3 separate regions of the Homo sapiens genome follow, and regions 1 and 3 are each linked to region 2. The links are contacts of gene promoters, found by promoter capture Hi-C in blood cells and fetal thymus (Javierre and others, 2016). All regions are on one chromosome and are shown on one strand. Each heading gives the region's core, a stretch centred on a gene start or on the middle of the fragment in contact. The rest is flanking DNA. Distances are from core to core; before and after follow the strand shown.

Evidence for each region. The method cuts DNA at HindIII sites, captures the fragments that hold promoters and counts their contacts. A CHiCAGO score of 5 or more calls a contact.
Region 1: the fragment with the promoter of LRRC47 here is called in contact with a fragment that was not itself captured in region 2 in 1 of 17 cell types (total CD8 T cells); the score reaches 6.8 in total CD8 T cells.
Region 3: a contact is called between the fragment with the promoter of TP73-AS2 here and a fragment that was not itself captured in region 2, in 9 of 17 cell types (non-activated CD4 T cells, total CD4 T cells, naive CD4 T cells and 6 more). The highest score is 11.9, in non-activated CD4 T cells.

The regions. Positions count from the first base shown.
Region 1 is chr1:3,795,204-3,798,977 of GRCh38, forward strand. It overlaps LRRC47 (leucine rich repeat containing 47), which reads right to left and starts at 1,295. Exons shown (of 7, transcript NM_020710.3): 1 at 659-1,295. The coding sequence starts at 1,273. RefSeq lists a silencer at 857-1,066 and an enhancer at 1,182-1,476. The HindIII fragment of the contact is 14,897 bases long and covers 1-3,774 here.
Region 2 is chr1:3,450,985-3,454,649 of GRCh38, forward strand. No RefSeq gene overlaps it. Among named protein-coding and RNA genes, the nearest start is that of ARHGEF16, 1.8 kb to the right of the region's middle. RefSeq lists an enhancer at 1,763-2,515. The HindIII fragment of the contact is 157 bases long and covers 1,487-1,643 here.
Region 3 is chr1:3,711,881-3,715,675 of GRCh38, forward strand. TP73-AS2 (TP73 antisense RNA 2) reads right to left here and starts at 2,418. Exons shown (of 2, transcript NR_185884.1): 1 at 2,307-2,418; 2 at 320-558. The region is part of intron 4 of TP73 (tumor protein p73); the gene reads left to right. RefSeq lists a silencer at 2,714-2,953. The HindIII fragment of the contact is 47,283 bases long and covers 1-3,795 here.

The DNA of each region.
Region 1 (3,774 bases), core at 45-2,544, 340 kb after region 2:
CCTACTTTCTTTTAGGCAACAGATTCAATGGGCACCTGTTATAGGCCAAGCATTATCGCGGGGCCTGGGGATCCAAGATTAATTAGTAAACAGACGCTGGACAATATAGTCTGGAGAAAAACCCAAGTTACCTGCTGCTTACTTTGGGCAGGCCCTTTGGCTTTCTGTAAAACAGGAATAACCACCCCTACCTTGGAAAGCTGCTATTAGGATGAAGTGAAATATAATCTTCAAGATCACAGCATGTGGCATTATGCAAAATCCAGGGTGCCCCCTTCACCACCAGACTCACTCTCAAGTCACTTCACAAGTACTAGATACAAAAAAGACAGGTCTCTACGCTCGATCTACAGGAGAAGCCAGGTTTGCTAACAATTACAAAATAGCGTACCACGTGTAAAAGTCCAGTTAACAGAATGCGGGGGAGTTCAGAGGCCACCTAGTATGTTGGTGTGGCCAGGAGAAGGGGGAGTTGGAAGGCGGCATCTGCTTCCCAGGGGTGATGCCCCCCGCAGCTGGCTCCTTTCAGCCTTGTAGGAATTCCCTGGGCCCAGTGCCCCAGGGGGCGTCACTAGGAACTGCTCGGCCCCGAGAGGGGTTCCTTCTCCAGGGCTACTCCAAGGCCCCATCCCGCCCCGCCCGGGCAGCCCCCGCTGACCTTGAGCGAGGCCAGGTGGGCGATGTCGGGGCTGAGTTCTCGGAGGCAGTTGTCAGCAGCCGCCAGTTCACTGAGCAGGGGCAGCGCGCCGGGGCGAAAGAGCTCGGCGGGAAAGGAGTCTAGGCAATTGCCGGTGAGGTTGAGGCTCTGCAGGCGCGGGGCGCAGCGCGCCAGGTCGGCTGGCAGCTCGCGCAGCCGGTTGCCGCTGAGGTTGAGGCTCTGCAGCTGCGGAAGGCCCGGCGGCTCGGCGGGGCCCAGGCCTTGGCCCGGCGGCAGCGCCTCCAGCGCGTTGCCCGACAGGTCGAGCACCCGAAGGGCAGGCAGCGGCCCGAGCTCGGGGCTCAGGCCGGGCCCCAGCGCGTTGCGCCGCAGCACGAGGCTGTGCAGCTGCGGCAGGCCCTGCGCCAGGCCAGGCCCCGGCGCGCGCAAGCTCCCGCAGCCGCTCACTTCCAAGTAGTGCAGCAGCGGCAGGGTGAAAAGCCGCGGCGGCAGCTGCCCACCCGCCGCCCGCACTCGCTCCTCCAGCCCGGGCCCCGTCAGCAGCAGCTCCCGCCGCCGCTCGCGCTCAGCCAGCTCCAGCTCCGGCCAAGACTCTGACACCGCTGCCGCCGCCATGGCGCCTCAGCTGCTGGCAGGCACCCACCCACCAGGGTGCTTCCGGGGCAGCGCGCGCCACTTCCGACCTGTGCCGGAAAAGCCCATAGAGAAGCCACCTGGCTGCTAGAGTGCCGCCGCGCGTGCCATAGAGGAGAGTGGCCTCTCCTGCGTAGAGCCGGGGAGGGGCTGGAGAGCGGCTCGCTCTCTCCGCGGGTAGGGGTGAGGGTGGGGGTTATGAACCCAAAAATATCTGAGACAGGACTCAATGAAATGTAAAAAGTTTATTTTGCCAAGGTTAAGGACACGCCAGTGTCACAACCCTAGGAGATCGTGACGATGGTGCCCAGGGAAGTTGGGATGCAGCTTGGTTTTGTACATTTTGGGGAGACGTGAGACATCAATCAACACGTGCGAGTGTACCTTGGTTCAGCCCAGAAAGGCTGGACAATTCCAGGAGAGGGCTTTCAGGTCACAGGTAGAGAAGAGACCGGAGGGTGCATTCTTTTGAGTCTTTGTTCAGCCTTTCGCTGACTGCACAATTTATTATGCATGTGAGACGCGGGTAGAGGAATAGTCGCTTATGCTTTAGTCTGGCTTACTGAATCTTCATTTCTACGTAAACAGTAGAGCAAAGGAAGCGATCAGATATGCATTTGTCTAGGTGAGCAGAGGGATGGCTTTGAGTTCAGTCCTTTGTCTCGCACCTGTGAAGGGAAGCTATCAATTTGCATTGCCAGGGTGAAATTCAACAGAACTGTTTTAGGGTAAAGATCTTGAGGCCCACAGAGAATTTCTTTGTGGGCAAATTGTGAGGGAGGTGTGTAGCTTTAAAAATATGTATTTGTAACTATCTTATTTAGGAATAAGACGGGAGGCCGATTTGCCCGAAGCAGTTCCCAGCTTGACTTTTTCCTTTGACTTAGTGATTGTGGGGTTTTGAGATTTATTTTCCTTTCACAGGGTGGGGTGCGGGCGGATGGAGGAGCCAGAGTCTGTGCTCTACTGTGCCCCGACCGGCTTGTTTTGGAATTCCTGCACTTTTGAGTGGTGTAAACCAAAACCAAAATTCTTTTTTTTTTCTTGAGACGGAGTCTCGCTCTGTCACCCAGGCTGGAGTGCAGTGATGCTATCTTGGTTCACTGCAACCTCCGCCTCCTGGGTTCAAGCAATTCTCCTGCCTCAGCCTCCCGCTGGAACTACAGGTGCATGCCACCGTGGCCGGTTAATTTTTATATTAACCGTGTTAATATAATTTTTATATTAACCGGTTTTCGCCATGTTGGCCAGGCTGGTCTCGAACACCTGACCTCAGGTGATCTGCTCGCCTCAGCCCCCCAAAGTGCTGGGCTCACAGGCACAAGCCACCGCACCCAGCCCCCAAATTCTTATTTATTTATTTATTTATTTATTGAGACAGAGTCTTGCTCTGTTACCCAGGCTGGAGTGCAGTGGTTCCAGCTCGGCTCATTGCAGCCTCAACTTCCCTGGCTCCAGTGATCCTCCCACCTCAGCCCCTGAGTAGCTGGTACCACAGGCATGTGCCACCACGCCTGGCTAATTTTTGTATTTTTTGTAGAGCTGGGGTTTTGCCATGTTGCCTAGGCTGGTCTCAAACCCATGAACTCAAGCAATCCACCTGCCTCAACCTCCCAAATTGCTAGGATTACAGGTGTGAGTCACCAAACCTGGCCAAAAAATAAAATTCTAGAGGCTGGGCACGGTGGCTCATGCCTGTAATCCCAGCACTTTGGAAGGCCGAGGCGGGCGGATCACCAGGTCAGGAGATCGAGACCATCCTGGTGAACACGGTGAAACCCCGTCTCTACTAAAAATACAAAAAAAATTAGCCGGGCTTGGTGGCAGGCGCCTGTAGTCCCAGCTACTCGGGAGGCTGAGGCAGGAGAATGGCAAGAACCCAGAGGGCGGAGCTTGCAGTGAGCGGAGATTGCGCCACTGCACTCCAGCCTGGGCGACAGAGTGAGACTCCGTCTCAAAATAAATAAATAAAAATAAAATAAAATTCTAAGCCCCCCAACCATCTGAGTGGACCCCTCCTCTGGGCCAAGGGCATTCCCTAGTTAATCTGAAAAACTAGTTCAGGCCATGATGGGAAGGGTCGGATGTGGAGGGGTAGGGGTTGGACATGCCTCATTATATTCTCCTCCCTTTGGGAATTCAGGCCCACCTGACCATCATTAATATCAACACAGACTTTAAGACTGACAAAGCCAGGCCAGGTGTGGTGGCTCATGGCTGTAATCCCAGCACTTTGAGAGGCCATGGCGGGTGGATCACTTGAGGTCAGGAGTTTGAGACCAGCCTGACCAACATGGTGAAAACCCATCCCTACTAAAAATACAAAAATTAGCTGGGCATGGTGGCGGGCGCCTGTAATCCAAGCTACTCGGGAGGCTGAGGCAGGAGAATTGCTTAAACCTAGGAGGCGGAGGTTGCAGTGAGCCAAGATTGCACCACTGCATTCCAGCCTGGGTGACAGAGCGAGACTCCATCTCAAAATA
Region 2 (3,665 bases), core at 315-2,814:
CTACAAGTTTTTATCACATTTGGAAATTTTTCAGACATTCTTTTTTTGAGACAGAGTCTTGGTACAGTGGCTGGAGTACACTGGCTCGATCATAGCTCACTGGAGACTCGTCCTCCCCAGGCTCAAGCGATCCTCCCACCTCAGACTCCCAAGCGGCTGAGGTCAACGAGGGATAGTCAGCGACGGTGCTTCCTTCCTGGTGGCTGACGTTCCAGCGTCCCCTGGCCTGGTATGAACTCTGGTGTCACTCTGCTCACAGAGCTCCCTGGTCGCTGTTGGTCCCTGGCTTCATGGGATCTTACTCTGCTTATGCACAGTTCAGTATTCAGCCAAAGGCTCAAGTGGACCCCTGTGGGGATTTTGGGGGCTCCACTACGTCGCTGCCTTCTCTCCAGGACTCTTTCGGGGCTCCCCTGCACTGCTGCCTTCTCTCCAGGACTCTCTCCATAGTCCTTGGCCTCCTTGGCTCCCCAACTCTGTCCCCTGTAGCCCAGTGAGGCCACCAGCCTCTCTTGGCCAAAGGCTTATTTACCTCTTTCTCCAGGAATTTCTGTCTCTGCACCTGTTGTCCAGTGTTAGAAAGAGTTGTTTCTCGTATTTTTTGTTCCATGTTTGAGTTGTTTGTGGTGACAGACAAGTCTGGTACCGACTACTTCGTCATGGCCAAAACACCTGACATGTTTTAAATTCTCAATTTGGGGAAGATACATGGGGTTGCTTTTATATATTTTTATATAAAAATATAAATACTATATGCATGTCTTTGTAAACCAGAAATGGTCCCTAATGATGACTAGGGATCCTGGGCTTTGGCGTCAGACAGACCTGGGCTCTAACTGTGGCTGGGCCACTTACCAGCCAGGTAACAAGGGGCAAAACATTTCTCCTCTCAGTTAAGCGGGGGGCATCTGAGGGGCTTTCTGTAAGAATTCACTAAGATGACGCGTGCAAGGCCCCCAGCATGAGGCTGGCACATAGTAGGTGCTTAATGGGAAGTAATGACCTGCTATTTTAGGGTACAAGGAGGAGGGGCATTTGCTCCTCAAACCCAACCTTCTTCCCACCAGCCCGGCCCCCCCAGCCATGGGCCTCCACCCACCCAGCAGAGGCGTCTCTGTCCTCCATCCCACTCACAGCCGCGCCCTTGGGGCCCTTTCCCAGCTGCCTACGGGCTGGAGAGGACACCCATGGAACTGCAGTGGGTAACAGGGCAGCCCAGCGTTGAGGGCCTGAGAACTGAGGGCTGTCATGGCCTTCCCTCCACCCCGTGTGCTCCTTAGGGCCCCAGGGAGGGAGGGGAGCAGGTGGGAGCACCGCCCACTCGGCCTGGCAGGGAGGACAAACCTGCCCAGCAGCCTCAGCTCACCCTCAGCCCTGGACACCTACCCTGGAAGGTCGAGCCAAAAGGCCTCCCGAGGGGCTGCTGGCCTCAGGTACCACCTAAGGCTACGGGCTGTCTGTGCTGTGGCCCCAGTGGCTGAGTAAAAGCTTGGAAAACTCAAAGCAAGGCCCGCAGGAGCTCAGGCCACCTCAAGCCGCAGGAAAGGAGCTCTGCTCCCGCAGATAGAGGTGTGCTTTCTGGCTGGCACACTGGTGCTCGGCCAGAGCGCTGCCCACCCTACAGCAATGCACAGTGGCTGTTAAGCTTGGGGGATCCACATCTTCTCCCCTGCCAGTAATGTGGGAGGGGAAGGCCCCCAGGGCAGGCTGAGCCACAGGCTCGGGATCCCACCACAGAGGTGCAGGAAGTGCCACGGGCCGACCCCACTGGCAGGCCTCCCACTGGCAGGCCTCCCCGGAGTCTCTCTCTCCTTGCGAGCCCCTTAGGTCTCCAAGCTGGTTCCTTCCAACCTCTCCCTTAGGCCTCATGCCAGGGCGATCTCCTGCGCCAGCATCAGGCCCTCATTTACAGCAGAGGTGACAGAGGCACAGAGAGGTCCTGACGCCAGCTCAGGTGACATCCCCAGCAAAGGGACCATCCCAAGCACACGCTGAGTGGCCTCTGGAAGCCAGCAGGACATGGGGAGACGAAGCCAGACCCAGGGTGGCTGAACGGGCCCAGCAGGGGCTGGACAGAAGGTGTGGGGTTGGGGGTAACTTGGAGGCAGCTACTGAAAGAGGGTTTTACAGGAAAGCACTCAGTGGGAATCAGGAACCTGGGTCCTGCTGACTGGCCTGGGGCAAGGCTTCTGTCCCCTCACTGGGCCTCAGTGACCCCACCGCACCTCAGTCCCCTCACGGGTCAAGGCTCCGGGACACCCCAGCTCCCTCCGGCAGGCCGGGCCTCGTCGGTGCAGTACCCATCATGGACTCAGGAGGGCAGCAGCCACCTGCCTTTCCCAAGAGCTGCCTGGAAGTGGAACCTCCCCACAGGCGGCTCCAGGTGGAGGCTGCAGCCCACAGGGGTCAACTCTTAGCTCCTCCCTCATCCACCCTCCCTCCCAGGGGATGGATGGCCCACGGGACCCATCCCTGAGGCCAGCCTGTGCCCTGCCCAGATGGCACCTGACACCCAGGCAGCCCCAGCCACAGGGCAGACATTGGGGGACTAGTGGGTGGGGCGACCAGAGCAGGAGGGGCAGGGCAGGCCGCCCCTCTACCTATGACACCTGAGAAAATGCCAAGTGACAGCCCCAGAGCCTGTGGTGTCTCCTCAACCCGCAACGGGATCTCACGGCCGCCCAGGCCAGGGAGGCAGGTCCTGGGAGGAGGGTGGTCAGTGCCTCTGGCTGGCACACCGGTGCCCGGCCCACGACCCCAAGGCCTGGGGTCAGTGAGGGGACGCTGGTAGAAGCTGACCCAAAGCCCAGTGTGGATGTTCACATGGAGGCCTTTGGCAACAGGCCTTTCCTGAAAAGGGGATGATGGAGGCAGGTCAGAAGTGGGTCTGAGCCCTGGGACCTCAGGTCACATTCCTGAATGGCCAGGCCCAAGCTTGGGAGGCTTGGCTCAGCCCCCAGCCCCTCCCACAGCACCAGGTGGCCTGATTCCTGAACCCCCAGCTGGGGGGCTGCTGCAGCCTCTGCCCGGGGCCCTCCCTCACTTTCACACGGGTTCCCAGCAGGCGGAGCAAGGAAAGGCCAGGCTCGGAGTCCAGGCTCAGCCTTGTGCACGAGGGCGAGCGCCTTCCTTTCCAGGACTCGGTCCTTCTCTGTGAAATGGGGATGACCGCGACTCAACCACACCAAAAAGGTGGCCAGAGTGCTTTGCGCCCTCTTGGCTGTCTTTGGCCGCCTGGCTTCCAAGAATCCAGAGGGCCGGGCCTTTCTACAGCAAACATCGGTCCCCGCAGGGCTGGTCTCCTTCCCCGAAGGCTTCCTGGAGGAGGCAGTGGAGCGGGGCCTGGAAGGACAGTGACGCAGGAGGGAGCCGAGCCGCTCTGGCCCCACGCCTGGCAGGCGACTCCCGGGCCGGCCTCGAGGGGGCGTGGGCGCGGGGAGGGAAGGCGCAGGCACCGGGCGGCGGCGGCTCGGCGGGAATCGAGAGGCGCGATCCAGTCCGGGCGATCACGTGGGCTCCAGCCGGCCCAGGTGGGGCTGTGACCTGTGACGCAGGCGGCGCCGCCACAGGTGCCCGGGACGCGCCCCGCCCCCTCCCCGGCCCTCCCCGCCCGGGCCCTCGGACCCGGAGCAGCCCCGCCCGCCCAGCGCCCACCTGCGGGGCCG
Region 3 (3,795 bases), core at 1,168-3,667, 260 kb after region 2:
CACACATGTTTGTCTTAGGGGAGAGCTGGCTCCACGGGTAGGAAAGCCCCCCGTCCAGGAGGGACATATGGAAGGACGGCCAGGGAAGCACAAAGGCTCTGCACGGGATTCCTGGGGAGAATGAGGCTGAGTCAACACTAATGGGTCTGGAGCAACCTTCCCAGCGCCTCGGAGGCTTGCAAGCAGGAGAATAATAGCGGAGGTGTCCCAACACGATCATGGTATCAATTGCATTATCCTAAAAGTTTATGGAATGCATGAGTGGAATTAATACCTTTTACTGGCACCAGAAGCAATTATATGTGCGTAAAGCTGAGGGAAGAGTTCTAACAATGTTTATTGTGGAGATGAAACGTGGATTATTAGGGGAAACAAGAGTACTTAGGGCGAAATTGCAGCAATTGCTGATATCATGTGGCGCAGGGATCTGCAGCAGGGACGGAGCTTCCAGCAGGCCTGCTCTGGCTGTGGTCAGCGCCTCGGGGCTCGTGGCCCGAGCCGGGGTTGGCTCTTCTCTCTTCACTTTCTGGAGCAGCCAGAGGAACTCACTCTTGGGCCCTGGAGGTCACAGAACTTAGCCTTGGAGGCCCCAAGTGAGGCTGGGGAGGCCCCAGCTCTGAGACCCTGGGTCCTGCTGCCCCACCCCACACTGCCTGGTTCTTGGAGGAGACAGGAGGGAGAACCCCTTGGGGGACAGGATTCCCTTCCATAGGCATGAGACTGTTGGGGGAGAGGCATGATCCAATTTACGTTTTAGGAAGAATCATCTATTTTCTAGGACTTCTTTCCAGTTTGGGGACAGCCCTGTGGACCCAGCATGTCTGATTAGTAGCGTTGGCAGCAGCATTGCCCCTATGTGCAGGGCCTCCCACACTCCCCATTTTACAGATGAGGAAACTGAGGCTCCCAGAGGGCACACCAGGGTCACCTGTCAGCAGAGGGCAGAGCCGGACCTGGCCCCAGCAGCCAGACCCCTAACCTTGCCCTTGCAGCCCGTGTGGTGCCCCACCCCGGCCCCTACAGGTCCCTGGACAGGTCCCCACGAGCAGCCCCTGCCCCCTGCCCCACCCTCTGCTCCCAGCTCTGTGGGGCAGGTCCCTGTGACCCTCAGGGCCCCCAGGGGAACCAGTGATAAGGAGGTGCTGACACCTCAGAGGGACCTGCCTGTCCCTAGGGGAGAAAGCCTTGGACCGAATGGGGTGTGGGGGGAGCCCAGGCTGTACCTTGGCCCCCATGAGCCTTCCACTGCTGTCTGCCAGTGAATCAAACTGGGACTGGGGGTGGAGAGCTGTCCCTGTCTGCTTTCACTGCTTGGTTTTGTTGACAAAGGAAAATCCCTCAAGAACGCTTTATCACTGGAGTGCTCCGAGGCTGGCGAGCCTCATGGGCGAGAAGCCAGGCAGCTGGGCTTGGGGACCGGCCTCTCCTGGTGCCTCCCTGCCCCCTCTGCCTTCACCCCTCCCAGGCCTGGCCTCACTGCCACTAACTCCCGTTGACAGGGGGAAAGAGAGGCCCACAGGGGAGGGCCGTCCCAGGCTTCTCCTGGACCCAGTGCTGACGCCAAGATGCGGTCGTAGGTGACCTGGACCTTGGGCCGTGTGGGACTCGGGGCAAGGTGGGGGGCTCAGCTGGGCAGTGAGTTAGTTTTGCTTCCCGGTCTGGTGGGTTTCTGCCACCCCAGGCCAGTGGTCACTTCTGGGATTTTCTGAGATTCCAAAAGTTGAAGCCACGGACCCTGGAGACCCGGACCCTGGAGGCCCAGCCCCTGCCTCTGGGTAGAGAAGGCCCTGAGCGACCTCCAGACCTTCTGTCCCTTTTCCGAGGAGCCTCAGGAAGAGGGGGACAGACAATTCCAGGGTGTCCCGGCTGGAAAGAAAAGCATCTTCTCTGCACTCCAGGCGGACAGCGTGAGGCTCAGAGATTACGTGGCGGCCGAGGCTGGTGTCCACAGCCAGGGGTTACGATGGGGCTGCAGAGGCCGTGAGCGGAACAGGGCATTTTAGGGCAGAAAGACCCTTTTGGAGAAGGTAACAGCACTCCAGGCTTCAGTGAGGCAGAAGTCAGAGCCCATGGGGAAACCGCACAGGGGGATTACCTAAAGCCCAGAGCCACCCCAAGGGTTGCAAACCCACCCCTCCCCCAGCCATGCCACTGGAGCGAGGCACCCAGCTCCTTGCACCTGGCGTTGGGGAGACACCACTCTCTGCAGGGGTCAGAGATTCGGAGGCCAAAATTCTCCTTCCCCCAGGCATTTCAATGAAGATTTACAAAGTTTAGCAAAAACCTAGATTCTAGCCAACTATTACCTTAAAAGCTGAAGAGGGACCACCCCACCATGTCCACAGCTTACTCCCCTCCCTCCGCTGTCTCCGGCCACCTCCAGCTGCTGCCAATTCCAGCCCCCAAGGCTGTCCCAGGAAGCTGTGGCCAGAGACTCCGGGACTGTCCTGTGAGCAGAGGGCACCCACTGACCCTGGGGCACCCTTCCAATCCCCACAGCTGACAAAGCCGGGCCTCAAAAGGCTGGGTTAATCCTGGCTTCTCCTCAAAGCCACCAGTCAGGGTGGGGGTGAGGATGGTGGGGGCAAGGATGGTGGGGGCTTCCTCCCCAGGAGTTAAGGGGCCCTCTCTGCAGTGAGCAGAGCAGGCCTGTTGCCAGCCTGCTGGGCCCCTCGTGGGACAGCTCCAGGGCCTGGCCCACAGTCCCGCTAGCTAGGTCCTTGCCAGAGGCCGGAGGAGAGGCCAGGCTACTGGCAACGGGCCCTCCAGCTGGCGCTGTCAAAAAGCAAGTTGCGGGCAGAGGACCCTGCGCTTGGTCCCGGCCCAGGGCAGAGGCTGAGTGTGGTGCTTTGAACACTCTGTGTCTTCAGAGCGGAGGGGCAGCTGCTGGTGGGCATTCCGGGGCCCTCTGCAAGCCCCAGCTTTTGTCTCTGCGGACCCAGGGCACTGCCCTGCCACCCCCTCTGTCCCCAAGGCCCCAGATGGGGTACCTGGGTCCTGGAATAAGAGCAGATGGAGTTCCTCGCCCTGCCTGGGCAGCTCATTCCTTCCCGGGCTTGGGCAGAGTGACAGTGATAGTAGCAGCCACAGGGCACCCGCACGCGGTCTCAGTGAATCAGGACAGCGGCGACCGGGTGGGGACTGGGCCCTGAGCTCCTCACACAGCATCTCGGCAGCAAAGTGGAGGCTGGAGCTGTCCAGGCTGGGCCACCCAATCCCAGCCAGACACAAGGCAGTCTGTGTGAGTCTCAGTCTCTATTGTCCATGGAGACCCATCCCCAGCAGGACCAGGGCAGGTGAGGCCCCTGGCTGTTGTTCCCCTTACCCCTAAGGGGCTTAAGTCCAGCCACGGGGTAAGAAGCCCATGTCCCACCTGACACCTCTGTAGTACCGTCTTTCTGGAACCCGGGGTGACGCCTCTGCAGTGCCCAGTCTTCCTGGAACCCAGGGGTGACGCCTCTGCAGTGCCGTCTTCCTGGAACCCAGGGGTGCTTAAGGCGGGTCTCTGCCTAGACCCCGACCCCAGGCCCCAGGACCCAAGTCAAGCCCAGCAGTGACAAAGGGCTGGGAGATGGAGCTTGGGGGTCAGACAGCTATGGTCTGGGTGCTGGTCCACCCCAGCTTAGCAGGCAGGTTTGGGTCACTAAACGGAGTGACAGTGCCTGACCTCCCAGGGCCAAGGTCAGGTGAGGGCCCCGCGCAGGGCAGGCACCAGTGGGCAGTGGATGTGGCCATGAGGGTGGACCCAGGTGCCCCATTCCCTGGCAGGTGGACAGCACTCACTGTCTCCCCAGG